Linked DNA regions of Homo sapiens: regions 1 and 2 are each linked to region 3. Evidence: promoter capture Hi-C in human tissues and cell types (Jung and others, 2019). All regions are on one chromosome and are shown on one strand. The core of a region is centred on a gene start or on the middle of the fragment in contact, and the rest is flanking DNA. Distances in the headings are between cores, read along the strand shown. Region 1 holds the start of GPI (glucose-6-phosphate isomerase). Region 2 overlaps UBA2 (ubiquitin like modifier activating enzyme 2). Region 3 holds the start of PDCD2L (programmed cell death 2 like).

The links. The method cuts DNA at HindIII sites, captures the fragments that hold promoters and counts their contacts. A contact is called where the count stands out against the background at its distance.
Region 1: a fragment that was not itself captured here is called in contact with the fragment with the promoter of PDCD2L in region 3 in 1 of the 25 tissues and cell types used here (aorta).
Region 2: a contact is called between a fragment that was not itself captured here and the fragment with the promoter of PDCD2L in region 3, in 1 of the 25 tissues and cell types used here (small bowel).

What each region holds. Positions count from the first base shown.
Region 1 is chr19:34,364,520-34,367,219 of GRCh38, reverse strand. GPI (glucose-6-phosphate isomerase) reads right to left here and starts at 2,024. Exons shown (of 18, transcript NM_000175.5): 1 at 1,832-2,024; 2 at 785-875; 3 at 369-437. The coding sequence starts at 1,953. RefSeq lists an enhancer at 210-950. The HindIII fragment of the contact is 6,168 bases long and covers 1-2,700 here.
Region 2 is chr19:34,457,084-34,459,783 of GRCh38, reverse strand. UBA2 (ubiquitin like modifier activating enzyme 2) reads right to left here. Exons shown (of 17, transcript NM_005499.3): 13 at 860-1,015. Among named protein-coding and RNA genes, the nearest start is that of WTIP, 23 kb to the left of the region's middle. The HindIII fragment of the contact is 3,181 bases long and covers 1-2,700 here.
Region 3 is chr19:34,403,025-34,405,724 of GRCh38, reverse strand. It overlaps PDCD2L (programmed cell death 2 like), which reads right to left and starts at 1,326. Exons shown (of 7, transcript NM_032346.2): 1 at 1,187-1,326; 2 at 910-1,076; 3 at 735-795. The coding sequence starts at 1,294. The HindIII fragment of the contact is 14,760 bases long and covers 1-2,696 here.

The DNA of each region.
Region 1 (2,700 bases), core at 129-2,628, 39 kb after region 3:
TGCTTGAGTAGGCTGAAGTCTTTGGTGATCTAAGATTCTTCTTGTCGCTACTAAAACTTGCATTGAGGATATATTAGAGTTAACTTCTCCAAGAAAATGTCAGCCTTGAGAAACTCTCCCTGTGGGTATGAGATATGCTCCTCCCAGGCAGACACTGGGAACCATTCCAAGGAGCTCACCAAACCAATCTTGTGGAAGGCACACCCCAAAGCCCTGCTACAAGCAGGAGGAAAAAGGCCTTCAGGCCCCTCATTAAGCAAAAGCATTGCCCAAGAGAAGGGGTGAAGACACAGGGTGATGCGGCTAACAGTCAGATAAACCCCAAAGGGAAGGAAGGAGGCCCCAGAGGGTATGTGGGGCCTGCTCACCTCGGTGTAGTTGATCTTCTCACCATTGAACATCCGCTCCCGGGCGGCCTCCACGCCCCTGGACTTGGCCTAGGAAGAGACGATACTGAGGCCTGGTCCCACCCACACTGGCCACCCCAAGTGTCAGCCCCCAAACACAAGGCTTGGTGCTGTCCCCAATGAGACAGACAGACGGCTGCTGTCTGGTTCCCTCCCCTGCTGTCTGGGAAGGGTCTACTCAGACATCAGACACTGGGGTCCCTGGGATGCTGCTTAGAACCTAAGCCAGGGACAGGTGCCTCACCAGCACAGAGGAGGTGACTGAGGTCTAATGAGAGGAAGAACTCAAGATACTCAAGGTCCTGGGGACTCCCAGGAGCCCAGCTCACCCACCACTCTGTCGGTTACCAGTTATGCCTCCCCAAGCAGAACATTACCAAGTCCACCAGCATCCGCATCACGTCCTCCGTCACCAGGTTCTTGGAGTAATCCACCAGGATATGCCCATGGTTGGTGTTGAGGGTCAAGCTGCAGAAAGATGGAGATGCTGCTGACCACACCCTGGTCTCCCTAGCGGGGAGCCATGCCCTAAGCAGGAGCTGTTCCCAGAAGAAACATCCTCCCTGACCCACGCCCCACAAGGGCCGCGGCCACCCAGCACAGTGGTGGTGTCTGTCACCTGCTGGCCCACCAGGATGATCTGCAACAGCAGCCCAGAGAAAGAAGCCATCCTCACAGACCGTAGATGCAGGCAGACCCTGGATGAGGAGCCCGGACTGAAGTGGGGGACCACCCCTTCCCAGGGCTTCCACTTTCTGCCGTAAGTTACTCAGGCACCCATCCAGATGACAGGGATGGCCATCGGGACGTCTAGCCCGGAGCCACAGTCGCTCCCCTCCCCCGCCTCCACCAGTATCAGTGATCAGAGCTCCCTTGGCCGCACTCCCGCCCATGATTTGCTCAAACACTCCTTCCCACTTCCCGGTCGTGCACAGGTGTCTTCTGCAGGAATCACGCCCGACGTCTCCATCCTTCCACCCAGCTCCCTCAAACACCCCCGCCCGGGCTGCCCGCCCTGCAGACGCTCCCAAGCTCATGTGGCCAGGAGCGGATGGAAAGGGACAGCCCTTTCCCGCTTGCTGCGTCAGCCAAGGCCTCTCTTCACAACTGCGAAAGGAGCCCCTGCTCAAATGGCCAGAGCTGCACGGGGAGGAGGAGGGGAAATGTCCCCACGGAGGGGCCCGTTTTTCCTCGTAACGAAGCAGACCCGGGGCCGAGACTCCCGGCGAGGCTGCAAGCCCCCAGGAACGCACTCCAAGGAGACTCCAAGGACGAAGTGCGGACTCGGCCTGGGCCCCAGTCCGTGGCCTGGAGGTCGGGGACTGGGGTCCCCGGGCACCGCTGCCCCCGCCTCCAGACCCCAGGCCCGCGTGCCCGGTTCCGGGCGCCGCGCGTGGCAGCCCCCGCCTCCGGCCCGCCCGCACCTGAAGTGGTTGAAGCGGTCCTTGTTGGCATCGAAGAGGCGGCGCAGGTTCAGCTCGGAGCGGTGCTCGCGGTACCATTGCTGCAGCTTCTGGAACTGGGGGTCCCGGGTGAGAGCGGCCATGGCGGGACTAGAAGGTACACTGAGTGAGACGCGAGCCGAGGAGGAAGGAGCGCCGGCAGCGCGCAGCAAGCGAGGCGCGTGGGCGCGCGGCGGCCTTTATGGCGCAGGCGCCCGGCCCGGCCCGGCCCGGCCCCACCCCTGAGCCCCGGCCCCGCCCCCGACCCGCGCCCCGATACCCAGGCCGGGTGCCCGCTGAGCGACCTTGCCCGCGGCCGCTGATCTGGGGCCTCAGCTCCTCTCTCCCTACCTCTTGCGCCGCCGCTTTGCTGGCCTCTGCCCGGAAGTGGCAGTGGGGAGGGTGGGCAGAGCCCGGGGATCACTGGAGCCCAGGTGTTGGAGGCTGCAGAGAGCTACCATCGCGCCGCTGCACTCCCTGTGCACTAGTCGGCTTCATTCATTCATTCGACAAAACTCTATAGATCGAACACCTTCCACGTTACAGGCAGTGTTCTAGGCGCTGTGGATACATATGTGCCAAATAAGCAAGTACAACAGATGATGTGTGTCTGCTGGTGGTAAGGGCTATTGAGGAAAACCAAGATGAAAAGGGTGCTGAGAATCGGGGTTGCAATTAAGAAAAAAGTGACTAGGCCGGGCGCGGTGGCTCACGCCTGTAATCTCATCACTTTGGGAGGCCGAGGCAGGCGGATCATGTGAGGCCAGGAGTTCCAGACCAGACTGGCCAACCTGGTGAAACCTCATCTCTACTGAAAAAAAAAATGCAAAAATTAGCCGGGCCTGGTGACA
Region 2 (2,700 bases), core at 186-2,685, 54 kb before region 3:
ACTGCTATTTGAGAAGGGCCACTTCCTCCTCTCTCAAGAGGCATGTAAATATGTAGCATTATGATGGTCACAACCAGAGAACAATAGGAAGTGATCCCAAAGTGGAAAGTGACACTTTTGGGTCATAAAAAAAGAAAATCTCCCCTAATACACAAATCTAGCCAATTTAACAGGAACTTAAGGACCAGACCATGTCCTAAACCCCCATTTCTTCCCTCGCTTCAGCTCCAGAGGTGAATCCAGGTGTGCAAATGCCCTATGTCCTCAGGGACTAACTTACCATATCAGAATCAGGTCATATTAGATAAGTGTGTACCACCACTTAGCCTCAACTCAGACCTCAGAAATAACAAAAGCCCCCTAATTTGCTGGGAGTGGGCACTGTCCAACACGCAGAGAAACCAAAACTCTGCAAGTTACTTATACCCTTTAATACAAAGCTGGTAACTGGGGCTTTGCTCTACTGGAAATGCAAACTTTGCACTGCATGCAAATACTTATCTGCTCACTGCCACAGTGAGGACCATTCAAGGATACCTGTTATTTGTCAAAAAATACAGAATTTACCCACTGCCTGGGAAGCAAAGAGCAAAGAAGTCCTCTGCTTGCTGTGATACTGTGCCACCACTGTGCTGCAGATTCCAGTCAAATACTCCTACTCCATTCTGGGAATGTGAGGCACTTATTCTGGAACCACAGACAGAAAAGCCTGCAGGAATCCAGAAGGCAAAATAACCCAGGAAATCACAGCCACACATCTCTGCAGTTGGACCTTTTCAGAATCAGCAGCTAGTGTTTGTTTGTCATCACAGTAATACTGTAAAAGCAAAAGGAAAAGAGACCCAGGCCTTGCACTGACCTTGTCTTGTAAGGTGAGAACAGTCACTTTATGGACATTCAGCCGCACAGTCACCTCTGGCTTGCTGGCACATACATAACAATTGGGGTTGGGAGGATCCAGTGCACAAGGCACAAGAAGCTTCTTTCTTGGGTTTGGTTGTTTATTCAAAAAAATCTTTGGAGGAGAAATAACAGGCAGAAATCGGAAACGTGCTGTAATTTTATACGCCATACAATCTAAAATCTCGTTTACCAGATATCCAATAAAAAATGACTTAAAAATTCCCGTCCAGATGGCAAAATGGATCAGGAAAATCATGACCTTTTTAGGAACCTGGTTTTTCAACCTTCTTTTTTTTTTTTTTTTTTTTTTTTTTTTTTTTTTGAGACGGAGTCTTGCTGTCGCCCAGGCTGGAGTGCAGTGGCGCAATCTCGGCTCACTGCAGGCTCCGCCCCCTGGGGTTCACGCCATTCTCCTGCCTCAGCCTCCCGAGTAGCTGGGACTACAGGCGCCCGCCACCTCGCCCGGCTAATTTTTTGTATTTTTTTTTTAGTAGAGACGGGGTTTCACCGTGTTAGCCAGGATGGTCTCGATCTCCTGACCTCGTGATCCGCCCGCCTCGGCCTCCCAAAGTGCTGGGATTACAGGCGTGAGCCACCGCGCCCGGCCTCAACCTTCTTTTCTAATCAGCTAAAGGCTAGGCTAGCTAGGCTTGCTGAAAAGACATCTCCTTGTATTATATAAGACTCCGCGTTCTTCTGCAACCTGATTTGGCAAGAGTAAGGGCACAGGCATGTTAATCTGTGGTGCCATCATTGTATCAGCAGCTGGTGTCCCTCCCTGAGGCTATTCTTATCAAGCAAGCAATCTCCTGACAAGACCAACACATTAATTTCTCCAGTTAACGATAGTGCCTTTCACAGTTGTCTAGAATCAACATCACTGCCTTCCCAAATTTTCTGATTAGAATAACATTTATATAATGAGGGAAAAAAATGTATTTCTGGCAGTATATGTACCTATTTACCATTTCTCTAATACTAAACAAAAAAATAATTAAGAACCAAGGCAAATATACAAATTACACTGAAATTAAGAAAAGCTCCAAGCTCCTGCTTCTACTAAAGTTTAGAAAACACTAGCAAGATCCAACAGAAACAACAAATGTCAGAAGACAAGAAGCTGAGACACAAACCTTTATCTTGTGACTACAATGTAGTGTTGAGTCTGCTAAGAGGAATGAATTCTAAAGGAGTACTCTACGGATTCCCCTGAGAATACAGAACTAAATCCCTCAAGAGACACTAAAGCCGTCCTCTGTAAAATAGCTTCTCCGTACAATGAATACTGGTAGGTGGAAGGGCTAGAAGCAAACTGCCCAGGCCAAGCAGGCTACAGAGGGAGAAAGATTTGTTTGATTTTGGGCTTCACCGGGAAGGTAAGTGTGCTAAGGGAAACTGACAATAATAAAAGCAATTGCTACCACTATTAATACCTGGGCTAACATTAATCCAGGCTGGAATTCATTTGCAAATGTAAAAAAATGAAATCCAGATATATTACTATATTTTTTCTTGAGGCAGAGTTTCGCTCTTGTTGCCAGGCTGGAGTGCAATGGCGCGATCTCGGCTTAATGCAACTTCCGCCTCCCAGGTTCAAGTGATTCTCCTGCCTCAGCCTCCTGAGTAGCTGGGATTACAAACATGCACCACCATGCCCAGCTAATTTTATATATATATATATATATATATATATATATATATTTTTTTTTTTTTTAGTAGAGACCAGGTTTCTCCACGTTAGTCAGGCTAGTCTCGAACTTCCAATCTCAGGTGATCTGCCTGCCTCGGCCTCCCAAA
Region 3 (2,700 bases), core at 77-2,576:
TTCGCCATGTTGGCCAGGCTGGTCTCGAACTTCTGACCTCAGGAGATCCGCCCGCCTCGGCCTCCCAAAGTGCTGGGATTACAGGCGTAAGCCACCGCGCCCAGCCTGGTCTCCAACTTCTGAGCTCAAGCAATCCTCCCACTTCAGCCTCTCAAAAAACGGTGGGATCACAGGCGTGAGCCACCATGCTGGGCCTCCATCTCCTTTTAACAAAGGAGTTAGAAAATAAAAATAAAGTAAAATAGAAGAAAAAAAAAACTCTCACAAAACCTTAAGAAAGGCCGGGCGCGGTGGCTCATGCCTGTAATCCCAGCACTTTGGGAGGCCGAGGCGGGTGGATCACCTGAGGTCGGCAGTTCGAGACCAGCCTGACCACCATGGCGAAACCCCGTCTCTATTAAAAATACAAAATTAGCCGGGCGTGGTGGCATATGCCTGTAATCCCAGCTACTAGGGAGGCTGAGGCAGGAGAATCGCTTGAACCTGGGAGGCGGAGGTTGCGGTGAGCCGAGATCGCGCCATTGCACTCCAGCCTGGGCGACAGAGCGAAACTCCGTCTCAAAAAAAAAAAAAAAAAAAAACTTTACGAAAATAGCATTTTATGGTTCTTCAGAAAAGCAAAAAACACTCCAGTGTACTTCAAAGAACACGGCTTTAAAGTCTGCCCCAAACTATTCTCTGGAAAATATCCTCAAATGACAGAAAAACAATAACATGCCAATCACAACCTTTACCTGAGCGTCCTGCGCCTCTCTCTCTGGCACCTGCAGGCACTGGGAGCGGAACACCTTCCAGCTTCGGGGTGAAGACAAAGGGCCGTGAGGGCTGCACCCCGACTCCAGCCCGCCGGCCCGCCCCAGCCCGCTGGAAAGGACACCCCTGGAGCAGCTCTGGGACTTCCCCGCCTACCTGCGCGCACCGCCGGTGCTACAGCCGGGGCAGGCGCACGCGAACACGTGCAGCAGACGGTGAAACGGGGAGCCTTCCAGCGGGCAATACACCTGCACGACCAGAGCGAGCGGCTGCCCGCAGCGCTGACACACGGGCCTGGGCGCAGCCACGGTGGGCAGAGCATCCTGAGGGGACAGAGGAGGCGCTCAGACCCCGACTCCCCCCAGGACCTCGCCCACTCCCTCCGCACCCTTCAGCAGCACCCATCGACCCCAGCTCCGGCACCCGCCCTCACCGGAATGCCGCCCAGCTTGCTAGCAGTCCAGGCACCCGGCCCTGTGGGGCTGCCGTGCACCGGCGCATCTCGAAGGCCCAGCAGCACCGGCTTCAGAACGGCCGCCATGGCCGCCGGGCGACCAGGTGAAAACGCAAACTACGGCGGCCTCTCTGCGCACGCGCAACGCTACGCTAAAATGATAACCCCGCTCCCTTACTAGGATCCGATGCGGAGGCGTGGCTTTAAGGCGCGTGCGCTCAGGTCCCAGAGCCACAGAGGCGCCGCTGGCGTCAGGGGCTCGAAATCCCGGAGTCCCAGGCATTATGTGCCCCTTAATGCGCTGTGATAGGAAGTACACACCATCTACTAGGAAGTAGTTTTGCCAAAAAGCTAACTTTCTTTTTTCCTTTTTTTCCTGAGACGAGGACTTGCTATATTGCCCACACTGGTCTTGAACTCCTGGGGTTCAAGCGATCCTCCCGCCTCCGCCTCCCAAAGTGTTGCGATTACAGGTGTGAGCCACCAGAAAAAAGCCTTCCCGGAAAATAAAAATTTTAGGTGGGATAATGGTATTATCAGTCATTAACAAGAACAATAAAGTTTTTTAAAAAGTTAAAGTTTTTAATTTTTAGAGAAACACACCAAAATGCTTATAGATGAAATACCTCCGATTTGCTACTACATAATTAAGGTGGTGGGGTGTAAATACAGTAAGATTGACCATGAGTTGATAATTGTTGAAATTTGGTGCCAGGCACATGGAGATTTATTCTATTTGGGTTTTATATGTTTGAGATTTTTCAGTTTTTATTTTTGTTTTGTTTTGTTTTGTTTTTGAGACAGAGTCTTGCTGGGTCGCCCAGGCTGAAGTGCAGTGGCGCCATCTCACTGCATCTCAGCCTCCCAGGTTCAAGTGATTCTCCTGCCTCAGCCCCACCCAGTAGCTGGGGTTACAGACGCCCACCACCACGCCCGGCGCCCGGCTTTTTTTTTTTTTTTTTTTTTAGACGGAGTTTCGCTCTTGTCGCCCAGGCTGGAGTGCACTGGCGTGATCCCAGCTCACTGCAACCTCTGCCTCCCAGGTTCAAGCGATTCTTCTGCCTTAGCCTCCCGAGTAGCTGAGATTACAGGCATGTGCCACCATGCCTGGCTAATTTTGTATTTTTAATAGAGATGGGGTTTCTCCATGTTGGTCAGGCTGGTCTCGAACTCCCAACCTCAGGTGATCCGCCCACCTTGGCCTCCCAAAGTGCTGGGATTACAGGCGTGAGCCACCATGCCCGGCCTTTTTTGTATTTTTAGTAGAGACGGGGTTTCACCATGTTGGCCAGGCTGGTTTCGAGCTCCTGAAATCAAGTGATCTGCCCACCTCGGCCTCCCAAAGTGTTAGTATTACAGGTGTGAGCCACCGCGCCCAGCCACACAATACAGTTTTTTCAATTCCTGCAGCACAACATGGGTGAATTTCAAAAGCATCATGGGAAGAAGCCAGACACAAAAGGCGCCATTCTGGTAAACGCAGAACTTCGGAG